Linked DNA regions of Homo sapiens: region 2 is linked to region 1. The links are contacts of gene promoters, found by promoter capture Hi-C in human tissues and cell types (Jung and others, 2019). All regions are on one chromosome and are shown on one strand. The core of a region is centred on a gene start or on the middle of the fragment in contact, and the rest is flanking DNA. Distances in the headings are between cores, read along the strand shown. Region 1 holds the start of BNC1 (basonuclin zinc finger protein 1). Region 2 has its middle 9.6 kb from the start of MIR4515.

Evidence for each region. Contacts are between HindIII fragments. The study calls those that stand out against the background at their distance.
Region 2: a fragment that was not itself captured here is called in contact with the fragment with the promoter of BNC1 in region 1 in 1 of the 25 tissues and cell types used here (stomach).

What each region holds. Positions count from the first base shown.
Region 1 is chr15:83,282,261-83,287,712 of GRCh38, forward strand. It overlaps BNC1 (basonuclin zinc finger protein 1), which reads right to left and starts at 2,404. Exons shown (of 5, transcript NM_001717.4): 1 at 2,270-2,404. The coding sequence starts at 2,368. BNC1-AS1 (BNC1 antisense RNA 1) reads left to right here and starts at 1,752. Exons shown (of 3, transcript XR_932542.3): 1 at 1,752-1,834. RefSeq lists enhancers at 1,795-2,295, 3,065-3,565. The HindIII fragment of the contact is 7,632 bases long and covers 247-5,452 here.
Region 2 is chr15:83,074,225-83,079,676 of GRCh38, forward strand. No RefSeq gene overlaps it. Among named protein-coding and RNA genes, the nearest start is that of MIR4515, 9.6 kb to the left of the region's middle. The HindIII fragment of the contact is 5,519 bases long and covers 1-5,113 here.

The DNA.
Region 1 (5,452 bases), core at 1,154-3,653:
TCAACCAACAGTTGACTTGAAATAGTAATAGTTTCTTGGTGAAATTAGTTAGCAAACTTATTAGATGAGAAATCAAACGATGACTCGTATCTTATTCGTTTTAACCATCTGAAAGTATGCCAAAAAGAATAAAGTTATTTCTTAAAATTCATCATCACAAAAGGAGAAGCCATCTTTTCACACCTCTTTAAAGAGCAAATCAAATCCAGTACAATTTGTAACATCTGAAGTAATGTTCTTTTATATGATGTACAAAATTTTATTTTGACAAACTATTTTAACAAGGTTTTAATATGTATCAACGAATCTGGGAAGGGATCAATGAAAAGAGAGTCAGTGTATCCATCACTGAACAAAAGTTTCAATACATTAACACGTATTTGCAAACTCAGGGTCGAAGACTTAGAATCTTATCAAGAGATCCCATAAAATCGAATAGCAAATTAAATAAACAGCGAATGAAAAAAAATCTGCCAAATGCTGTTTTTCAATTCACTTACTGTCAAGCCAAAATCTTGTCGCTTTGATGAAAAGAATATATTTTTAAAAAAATTGTTGCTACATCTGCTCTGTGGTCCTATGCAGTAACACATGTTCTCTCTCCCTCACACACACACTCTCTCTCTCCCTGACAGGGATTCCCAGGACACCGGTGGGGCCTCTTTTAGGCCCCTTAAGTGTTAACAGCAAGAGGCCTGGCTGAGACCAGGCGTCTGGGCCGCTTTAAATGCCCTGGCCTTCAGAGGACTGAGGCGAGCACAGCCATAAAACCAGGGGACGTTACCGAACCCCCGAGCGTCTGATGCCCCCCGCCCCCCAACCACACACAACTTCACTCACACAATTAAGGCTGGGAGATGGCATTCCACTTAACTGTCAGACTCGGAGCGGTGGCAGCCCCGCAGCCACAAAGAGATGCCTTAAATGAGAAGAACATGTTTCTACACCGCATTTGTGAAAGTTTGGCTCGGAGCTACGCGCTGATTAATATCAGATCTCCTTCACTCGCCTCGCCACAATCTTGTCACATCTGGCTGACAAATCCCGAGGAACTCCGGCAAAGCCAGGCGGCGGCGGGGCTCCGGGTCTGGGCGGCGGCTCCGGAGGAGCAGCGGGAGACCCCGCAGCGGCCTCCTCCTTCTCCGCCCGCGGCCCCCAGCCTCGCCGCCGCCGCCCGGCTCCCAGCACGGAACCGACGGGGCGCTCCCGAGACGGGCGAGCCACGCGCTCGCAGGTCCCAAGGCCAGGCTGGGCGGGACTGTTAAGGGAGCTCGAAGTCGGGGGCCGGGGGCTTCCCGTCCCGGCGCTTCCCATGCAAACCCCTGAAGGAAGCGGCAGGCGCAGCCGCGGGCTCCGCAGCCCAGGCCCACTTCCTGTCACTCCAGGAAAACCTCGGAGCGGCGGACGCGGCTCGGCCCGGCTTCCAGCCCAGAGCCCAAGCGCCTTAGCCCCGTCCCAGCGCTTTCTGAAAGACGGGCCACCTCGCGCGGAGCCGCGACAAGGACTCCAGGGTCCGCAGTGAAGCTGGTCAAATCTGCCCCGCACACGGTCAACGCTCGGTCTGTGTCCCGGAAGCTTTCGGACCGGACCTGTCTAAATAGCGACTTTCAGTCGTGGGTTTTTTGTTCTTGTGGGTTTGTTTTGTTTTTTGTTGTTGTTGTTGCTCTACAAAAGATTTGTCCCGCAGTGGACGGGAGCCTCCTCACGGCCGCCCGCCCGTCTCCGCAGTTCTCCTCAGTGACCGGAGGCTGCCGCGCGCCCCGTTCTCCAGAGAAACAATCCCCGGAGAGAAAGACGGCCAGTGTGAAATATCAGCTGTTTCACAAATTCTGAGGTAAAAGAAAAAAAAAAAAAGAAGGGGTCGACCCCCACAGGTGGAAACAGCAAGTCCTAACGTCCTGGGCTGAAGCCTGGGGTGCGGGCGGCAGAGAGTGGCGTGTAGGGTACCCGCCGAGTGCCGCCGCCGATTTCCACAGGCTGGCCCGCCGGCACCTCCGACGCGCCCGCAGATCCGGCGCGGAGACCGTTTGCCAGCTCCGGGACGTCGGGCAGGGACGGGTCCCAGAGCCCCAACCCCCCCGCCGCCGCCTCCCGGCCGGAGACCACGGTCCCTCCCGCCGCGCCTCGGGGCCGCGCTGCCGCGCAGGTAGCCAGCTGGCCCTCGGGAGGTGGCCCTCGGGTACCCACGGGAGCCGGAGCCCAGCGGCGTCCCGGGCCGCCTGCTCCGCGCACAGAGAATCCCCGCGCCCGCGGAGGGCGCCGCGCTTACCTCGGCCATCCTGCGACCGCTGCGGTGCCGGGGCTGCCGGCGCGTCTCCCGGGCCCGGGCCGCCCCGCGTCCGCCCCGGCTCGGCGGGCGCCGCCGCATCCACGCTCCGGCCGTCGGGGCGCGACCCGGCGAAGTGGGCGGCTCCCCAAGCGCCCAGGCTGCGCAGCACGATGGCCGCCCCCGCCGCGCACCGCGTGTGCCCGCACGCCCGCCCCCTGCGCCCCGGGGACGCCTCTCCGCCCCTCCCCCTGCCCCTCCGCCCACCGCGCGGTCGCCCCACGCCGCGGGCGCTGCTTCGCCGCCCGGGAGGCCGCCTCCCGCCCCGGGACCGGATAACGCCCTAAATCAGCGCAGCTGAGGCGAGGCCGTGGCCCCCGCAGACCGCGGAGACCTCGCCGGCGGCCGGCGCGGAGGTGTCTGCCCCCGCCGGGCTTGAAGGCACTTGTTGGTAAAAGACACAGACGTGTCGGTGTTTGCCTCTCCCGGGGAAGGGCGAAACGCTCTGAAGTTCTCTGGCGCTCTTCTCAGGAGATGATTCGGCCTCCCCTCCTACCCTGGGGCGCCCTCGGGGTCTCACTGCCGCGGAGGAAGAAGGCAGCGCCGCCCTCGCCTGCAGAAACCTCATTCCCGAGAAAGTGCGGGACGAGCGTCTTGGGATGTGGAAGAAGGGGGTCGCCAGGAGGTTTTCTTAAGAACTCAAAACAAGCGCCCCCCACCGCACACGCACACACACACACACACACACACACACCCCTTCCCTTGGGTGGTCTGAAGAGTCAAAGTCCCAGCTTGACCACTTTCCCAGGACAAATGGCTTTGCTCTCTGGGCCTCAGTGGCTTCAGTTGTAAAATGGGATTAAGTTTTTCGCGTCTTATTGGATGCTAGGGACGGAATGAAATGAAGTGCCCTGGAGAAGCCAACTGGAGGTGGTGGCCCCGAGAGTAGACGCGGAGGGGCTGAGGCCGCAGGATCCTGGAGCCCAGGAGCTGACGGAGATCGCCCACAGCTGCTGCAGCAGCGCCCGGGTTTCTGCTGCCCCGGGGCAGGGCAAGCCTCTCCCAACCTCTTCAGCTCCTTAAAAGGAGTCTGTAAAGGCTAGACTGGGGGGGCGGCGGGGGTCCTGCTTCCTCTTCCCTCAGTTTCTTCCACCTGCCTTGCTGCTGGTGGGGATCCTTGAAAAGGAAACAAAGCTCTTCCTTCCCTCTCTGAGAGGAAAAGGAAGATGAAGTGAGTTGCCCTCAGCCACCCAGAGTGTGCCTGGTTGTGGCTATGGAAGGCACAGGCAGGTGGAAGGCTTCTGAAGGGAAGAGAAGGGAAAGGAGGGAACAAGGTGTACGAGGAAGAATGTGTGGGTGTCTGGGCGTCCTGGCGTCCTGGGGTCCAGCGGGTCCTTCTGCCTCTCCTGGGGTGGACACACAGGTGAGTGTCCTGGGCCTGATGTGTGGCGCCTTTCCTTGTAGGCTTGAAGTCTCCTGGCCTCACGTGATGGACCTTGCCGTGGGAGGAGATTCTTTTTTTTTTTTTTCACGTGGCTAACTTCTTGATGTAGCTTTGCTAGATTCATTCCGCATCTAAACTGCTTACCTCTCATTCCTCCGTGCCCCCGTATTGAGGCCTTTCTTCTAACACCTCCTTCTCTGTTTGTTGTAACACAGTGCATCTTTGAAGGACTTTCTGGAATGTCACCACATCTCAGAAACCTTCCCTGATCCACCAAGCCTCCACTCGATGTGCTTTTGCCCTGTTGTGACCCCCAGGCACTTTTTTCTGCCTCTTTCATCGTGCCAGTAGCATTGTGTAGCCTAGTTGTGATGTGTGCTTGTCTTAATTCCTTTGGTGGTTACTCATCTTAGTGGCTTCTGTGCTATGAGATACGGTAGCAGATAAACCTCTGGTTTTGCAGTCATAGTGACCCAGGGATAGCTCATTCCTAGCAACTGGAAACTGGCTGAGGAAGTCAGCCTTCTTGGCCCCTCTTTTCTTCTCTATAAAAGCAGATATGAAAGCCTGTCTCAGGCCAGATTGGTAGGACTAAATAAAATAGTCTCTGTTCTGCAAACCCTCTCCCCCTTTCCTTTCTGCTGCATCTAAAACCAATTTCTGGATTAACTTAAATTTGTTACCTACAATAATATTGTAACCAAGAGAGATCCTTGATGACAATATTACTGAATGCCACCTATGCCTATTATAAATACACCACAATGTCTATGTCCCAGGCGGTGGCCCACTTCAATAACTTTAATCTGTCCAATTGAAAGTTTTGGTCATTATCTTTATATTAATTGCAACTAAATTATATGTGTTTTAGTAAAACTTTCTGCTAGCAACAAATATCAGAATCAACTGTGTAACTCTATTCCTGGCTACAAACACAAGAAGGATTCTGGCAGTACATAATTTGAAAACATGAAAACAAGCTGCCTCTTCCAACATGTACTGTTGGGATCGACAGATACATTTTTTTCAAATGTGACAATTTGGACCGACATATAGGGAATCAGTAGGTCGAGATAAAAATTACTAATTAATCTTTTGCAGTTTCATTTTAAATCATGTACCTGATAGTACCATGTGACCTCTGACATCAGTCCTCAAATTTATTTCTCAGGTCTGATGGGCTTCTCTGCCATTCCCTGGAAATGTTAAGTAGAAACAGGAACAGAGAAACCACCTGTGCCTGTAGACAGGAGTGTGGTACTGGCTGGGTAAAGACTACCCAGACCATCTTCCTGTTTTCCTGCTGGTTACCAGTGGGGTCTGGTATGGCCTTTCCCTCCTCTAGACCTCACCTTTTTCATCTGGCAAATGAGAGCATCTCTGAGAGCCCATCCTGCTCTTGCAAAGTCCTCACGTTTTGCTTCTATGTTTCAACCTTGCCATTTTCTTTTGTGGCAAGTTCTTTGTCTTGGCAAGTGATAAAAACAGATTGTCTTCCCTAACTTTACATTATCAAGTACTAAAAGAAACTTTATTAAAATTGGAAAGATTGAGAAGATACAAAATAATGAAATCTTTGTGACCTGATGATAAGGAGGTAAGAATCAGCTCTTCTGAGATGCAGGGCTTGATTAGGTTGCTGTGTCTCTGACTGAGGCATTTCCCAGAGTGAATGTGTTGTCACTCTCCATCCTGAGAATCAATGACAAATGCTGAGGGGCTGGGCAGGCTGAGTCAGGGGG
Region 2 (5,452 bases), core at 1,104-3,603, 210 kb before region 1:
TTGAACTCCTGACCTTGTGATCTGCCCACCTTGGCCTCCCAAAGTGCTGAGATTACAGGCGTGAGCCACCACGCCTGGCCCGAGCACCTGCCTCCCTTTTATCTGTGATAATCTCTCTAACAAGTGGTGGCTCAGCTGTGCTCTTGGATTCCTCACCTGAAAATGTTCTTTCCTTCTGTACCACATGGCCAGGCTGAGAATTTTCCAAAGTTTTACTCTCTGCTTCCCTTTTAAGTTCCAATTTTAGATCATGCCTTGACTCCTATATCTGCTCATAATCTGTTAAAAGTAGCCACACCATGTCTTGGATGCTTTGCTGCTTAGAAATTTCTTCTACCAGATACCCTAGGTCATCACTCTGAAGTTCAGCCTTCCACAAAGTCCTAGTGCATGGACACAATGCAGCCACGTTATTTGCTATAGTTTAACAAGGGTGACCTTTGCTCCAGTTCCCAATAAGTGCCTCATTTCCAACTGAGACCTCATCAGCCTGGCCTTCATTGTTCATGTTTCTATCAGCATTTTGCCCACAACCACTTAACCAGTCTCAAAGTTTCAAACTTTCCCTTGTCTTCCTGTCTTCTTCTGAGCCCTCCAAACTCTTCCAACATCTTCCCATTACTCAGTTTTAAAACCACTTCCACATTTTCAGGTATCTTCCTAGTAACCCCCGACCCTTGGTACAAATTTTCTGTCCTAGTCCATTTGTGATGCTATAAAGGAGTACCTGATGCTACATAATTTATAAAGAAAAGAGGTTTATTTGGCTCACAGTTTTGCAGGCTGCTTCTACTCATGGTGGAAGGCAAAGGGGGCAGCTGGCATGTACAGATCACATGGTGAGAGAAGAAGCAAGAGAGAGGGGAGGAGGTGCCAGGCTCTTTCAATAATCAGTTCTAATGAGAACTAAGAGTGAGAATTCACTTACTCCCATGAGAATAGCACCAAGACATTTATGTCGGACCTGCCCTGTGATCCAAACACTTCCCATCAGGCCTCACCTCCAACACTGGGGATCACATTTCAACACGAGATTTGGTGGGGCCAAACAAACCACATCCAAACCACAGCAGATAACAGTGCAGGATTATTTGTGATAATAGAACATTGGAATAGGCTGAGTGCAGTGGTTCATGCTTGTAATTCCAGCACTTTGGAAGGCCGAGGTGGGCAGATCGCCTGAGGTCAGGTGTTTCTTTTCTGTCTGAGCTGTATCAGACATTCAGAGAACTGCTACAAATTTGTGCCCTATAGGCCAGGTGTGGTGGCTCACGCCTGTAATCCTAGCACTTTGGGAGGCCGAGGCGGGTGGATCATGAGGTCAGGAGATCAAGACCATCCTGGCTAACACGGTGAAACCCCGTCTCTACTAAAAATACAAAAAAAATTAGCCAGGCTTGGTGGCGGGTGCCTGTAGTCCCAGCTACTCGGGAGGCTGAGGCAGGAGAATGGCATGAACCCAGGAGGCGGAGCTTGCAGTGAGCAGAGATCGTGCCACTGCACTCCAGCCTGGGTGACAGAGCAAGACTCTGTCTCAAAAAAAAAAAAAAAAAAATATTGTGCCCTACAAACAAGGAATCTGATAAGTTCTATTTTGTGTGATTCCTGTCACACAAGGGTATGGTTATAATCAATAAATTATCAAGAATGTTCCTGAAAGGAGAAGACTTCTGTTTTCACCAAGTGTTAATGAGAATCAAATCTTTTGTTTACAACTTTATACTTTGAAGGATTTTCCATAGACTAGCTTCTGGTGCTATGTATTTTTATTTTTATTTTATATATTTTTGCAGAAAGAGTCTCGATCTGTCACCCAGGCTGGAGTGCAGTGGTGTAATCTCAGCTCACTGCAACCTCTGCCTCCCGGGTTCAAGCAATTCTTGTGCCTCAGCCTCCCGAATAGCTGGGACTACAGGCATGTGCCACCACACCTGGTTAATTTTTTGTATTTTTGTAGAGACAGGTTTCACCATGTTGCCCAGGCTGGTCTCAAACTCCTGAGCTCAGGCAGTCCGCCCTCCTCAGCCTCCTAAAGTGCTGGGATTAGAAAAACATAAAGTAAAAATAAAAATAAAACAAAATAAAATTAAAAAGAAACACAAACTGAGAAGAATGTTTGCATGATTTATGACAAAGGCATGATATCCTTAATATATAAAGAGCCTTTACAAATCAATAGGACAAATACTCTTTCTTTTTTAATGGACAAAAGACACAAACAGGGAACTCACAGAAGTATAACCTCTCTGAAGAGCAATTCATAAATGTGCCCACAGTTTAAAACCTACATATCTTTTGTTCCAGTAATTCTACCTATGGTATCCTAAAGAAATAAGAGCTGGGTGTAGAGTTAAAAGCAACAATAACAAAGATATCAAAGCATTATAATATTTTTTAAAATAGAAACAACTTAGATCAGTGGTTAACTAAATTATGGTATAATCAATCATATGATGGAATGATAAATATCTGTTGAAAAAATTCTATTGATGTGAAAAAATATTCTCAACCCATAATGCTAAGTAAAAACAGGCTACAGAACGAGACGTGTAGCATATCATTTTGTCTTTTGGGCTCAGAGTATACCATTTTGTTTTAAATGCCACATACACACACACATATATGTGTATAAAGAGACAAAGTAGGACCACTGTTATCAATTTGATATATTGCAGGATAATGGGAATGTGGGTGATTTCCCCCACTTTCTATTACTTTTCTTTTCTTTTTTTTTTTGTGAGATGGAGTCTCGCACTGTTGCACGGGCTGGAGCGCAATGGTGCAATCTCCGCTCACTGCAACCTCCGCCTCCTGGGTTCAAGCGATTCTCCTGCCTCAGCCTCCTGAGTAGCTGGGATTACAGGTGACTGCCACCACACCCGGCTAATTTTTTGTATTTTTAGTAGAGACGGGGTTTCACTATGTTGGCCAGGCTGGTCTCGAATTCCTGACTTTGTGATCTGCCCATCTCAGCCTCCAAATCTATTACCTTTCTTATTTTAGAGAAAGAGGTTTTTTTTTTCTTTTTTAAATAAAAACACTGTGAGATTTGACTATATACAAATTTTGAATTATCCAACTGGTCAACTATAGCAGGGACTCTAGGCATGTCTATGCCATAGAATGCAGTTTGTTTCCTTGACTTCCTCTGAAATGCTGTTAGGTTTCACCTTTCATTTGATTAAATGCAATTTAATTCAGTTCGATGCTCATTGCAAGGCAGTTAGAGGTGAGATTCCAAAGATGACTAGAAAATGTTACTCACCCTGAAGAAGCTTATAATTTAGTAGAAAAGGGGGAAGCCCACTGAAGCCTGCTCAGCTAGAAATAAAACTCTTGATGTTTGGTGGATTTGAAAAAATAAAAATGCAGCAGCAAAGGCAATTTGTCATACCCTAGACTAAATTCAGCTTACGTTGGAGCTCTTCTTTCTTTGCTTGTCATTGCTTTCTGGAATCCAGCCTAGGAAAGTAATATATGTCACCATGTGTGCTAGTTTATAATTAGAACAAATGTGAGGACTTATAAGAAAAAGACCTATTGGCAAAAAACATTGAGTAAAATTCTAGAAAAGGCAGTCAGGAGAAAGAAGAAGGAAGAAATCTATTTTGGAAAATAATTTAATGCCAAAGAAAGATAAGACATTTAAAAAGCATAAAAGGCAATTATTATGCCCTTAGGATTTTTATATTTCAGCGAGTGCATGAAAATATAGCTGCTATTGAATTACCCTCTATTTGAAAGGATGAGTATTGTAGGTATAAATAGAAGCTAAGGTCAAGAAGCCAAAGGCAGAAAAAGACTCACACATCCAGCAGAGACCGATAAGCATGTAAAATAATATCCTCTATTCATAAGGCTGCGATTATGCCCATGACCCGACTTTGAGCTCCAGGAAAGAAGTGCAGGATAAAAGCCAGGGGTCCCAACATTGCCCTTCCTACAAATCTTTTTTTGTTTTGTTTTGTTTTGAGATGGAGTCTCACTCTGTTACCCAGGCTGGAGTACAGTGGCACGACCTCAGCTCACTGCAACCTCTACCTCCCAGGTTCAAGCGATTCTCCTGCCTCAGCCTCCCAAGTAGCTGGGACCACCAGTGCCGGTGCGCGTCACCAAGCCTGGCTAATTTTTGTATTTTTAGTAGAGACGGGGTTTCACCATGTTGCCCAGACTGGTCTTGAACTCCTGACCTGAGGTGATCTGCCCACCTCAGCCTCCCAAAGTGCTGGGATTATAGATGTGAGCCACTGTGCCCGGCTCCTTCCTATAAATCTAAAACCCGCTCCAGCATTCAACACACTTTACTGTAACACTAACACACAGTAGAGTCTGATTTCTAAGATCTCTGAGCCCATAGGGTTAATTTCTCCCAATACTTCCCCTTTTTTCAACTGAGAATTCACACTTTTCAGAAAGATGTGTTTGACCTAAGCCCCAAAACCCAACACTCCCTCTTTCTCCAAGATCTAGAGTTTCTGAGAAGCCTTTCCCAGAGGCATGGCCCTAGGAATTAAACAAGCGAACAAACAGAAAAAGGGTCACCCCTAGTGTGAAGCAGCTTGATCCCCCCATCTTTCCACCCCGTCTCCCCATGGTGCAGACCGCCCCCATCTCAGATTTCCCACCATCTGCCTGCCACGCTCAGCACAGAGCCGCTCAGCCTTCCTTCTCTGCTGTCCTGTCTTCGACCATCCCCTTGCCCATCCCCTCTGTCTCAGGCTCCTATCCCAGCTGTCTGTGCCCAGCCACATTCACTGATGGCTCCCCCACTGTGCCACACTCCATTGAGTGGCAGTGCTAAGTGAGTTTGCTGCCTCTTCTTCATCCTTCTCTGAGAGGTTCTCTTCTTTATACGTCACTCCCATGACTCAATGGTCAGACCTTTTCTTCAAGAAGAGGATAAAAAAGGGACCAGGTGTGGTGACTCACGCCTGTAATCCCAGCGCTTTGGGAGGCAGAGGCAGGTGGATCACTGGAGGTCAGGAGTTCGAGATCAGCCTGGCCAACATGGCGAAACCCCGTCTCTACTAAAAATACAAAAATTAGCTGGACATGGTGGTGCACACCTGTAGTCCCAGCTACTCAGGAGGCTGAGGGAGGAGAATTGCTTTAACCTGGGGGCGGAGGTTGCAGTGAGCCAAAATTGTGCCACTACACTCTAGGCTGGGCGACAGAGGAGACTCCGTCTCAAGAAAAAGATGAGTGGAAAGAAGGACCTGTCAGTTCCCCAGGTCCACTCAGGTTCTCTCAGTTCGCTAGCTCTTTTTCAGACACGCCTCATCTGCATGTTAGAGTAAATATCTCTGTTCTGCCTCACCTGGGAGCCACTCTTCTGGGCTTGAGTAAGAATTTATTTAATAGCTGATACACAATTTTAGTCTGTGACCCATCTGAGGGATGGGCGACACGTCTACCCATCCTAAACAGATTCTTGGCACCTTTTCCCTGATGA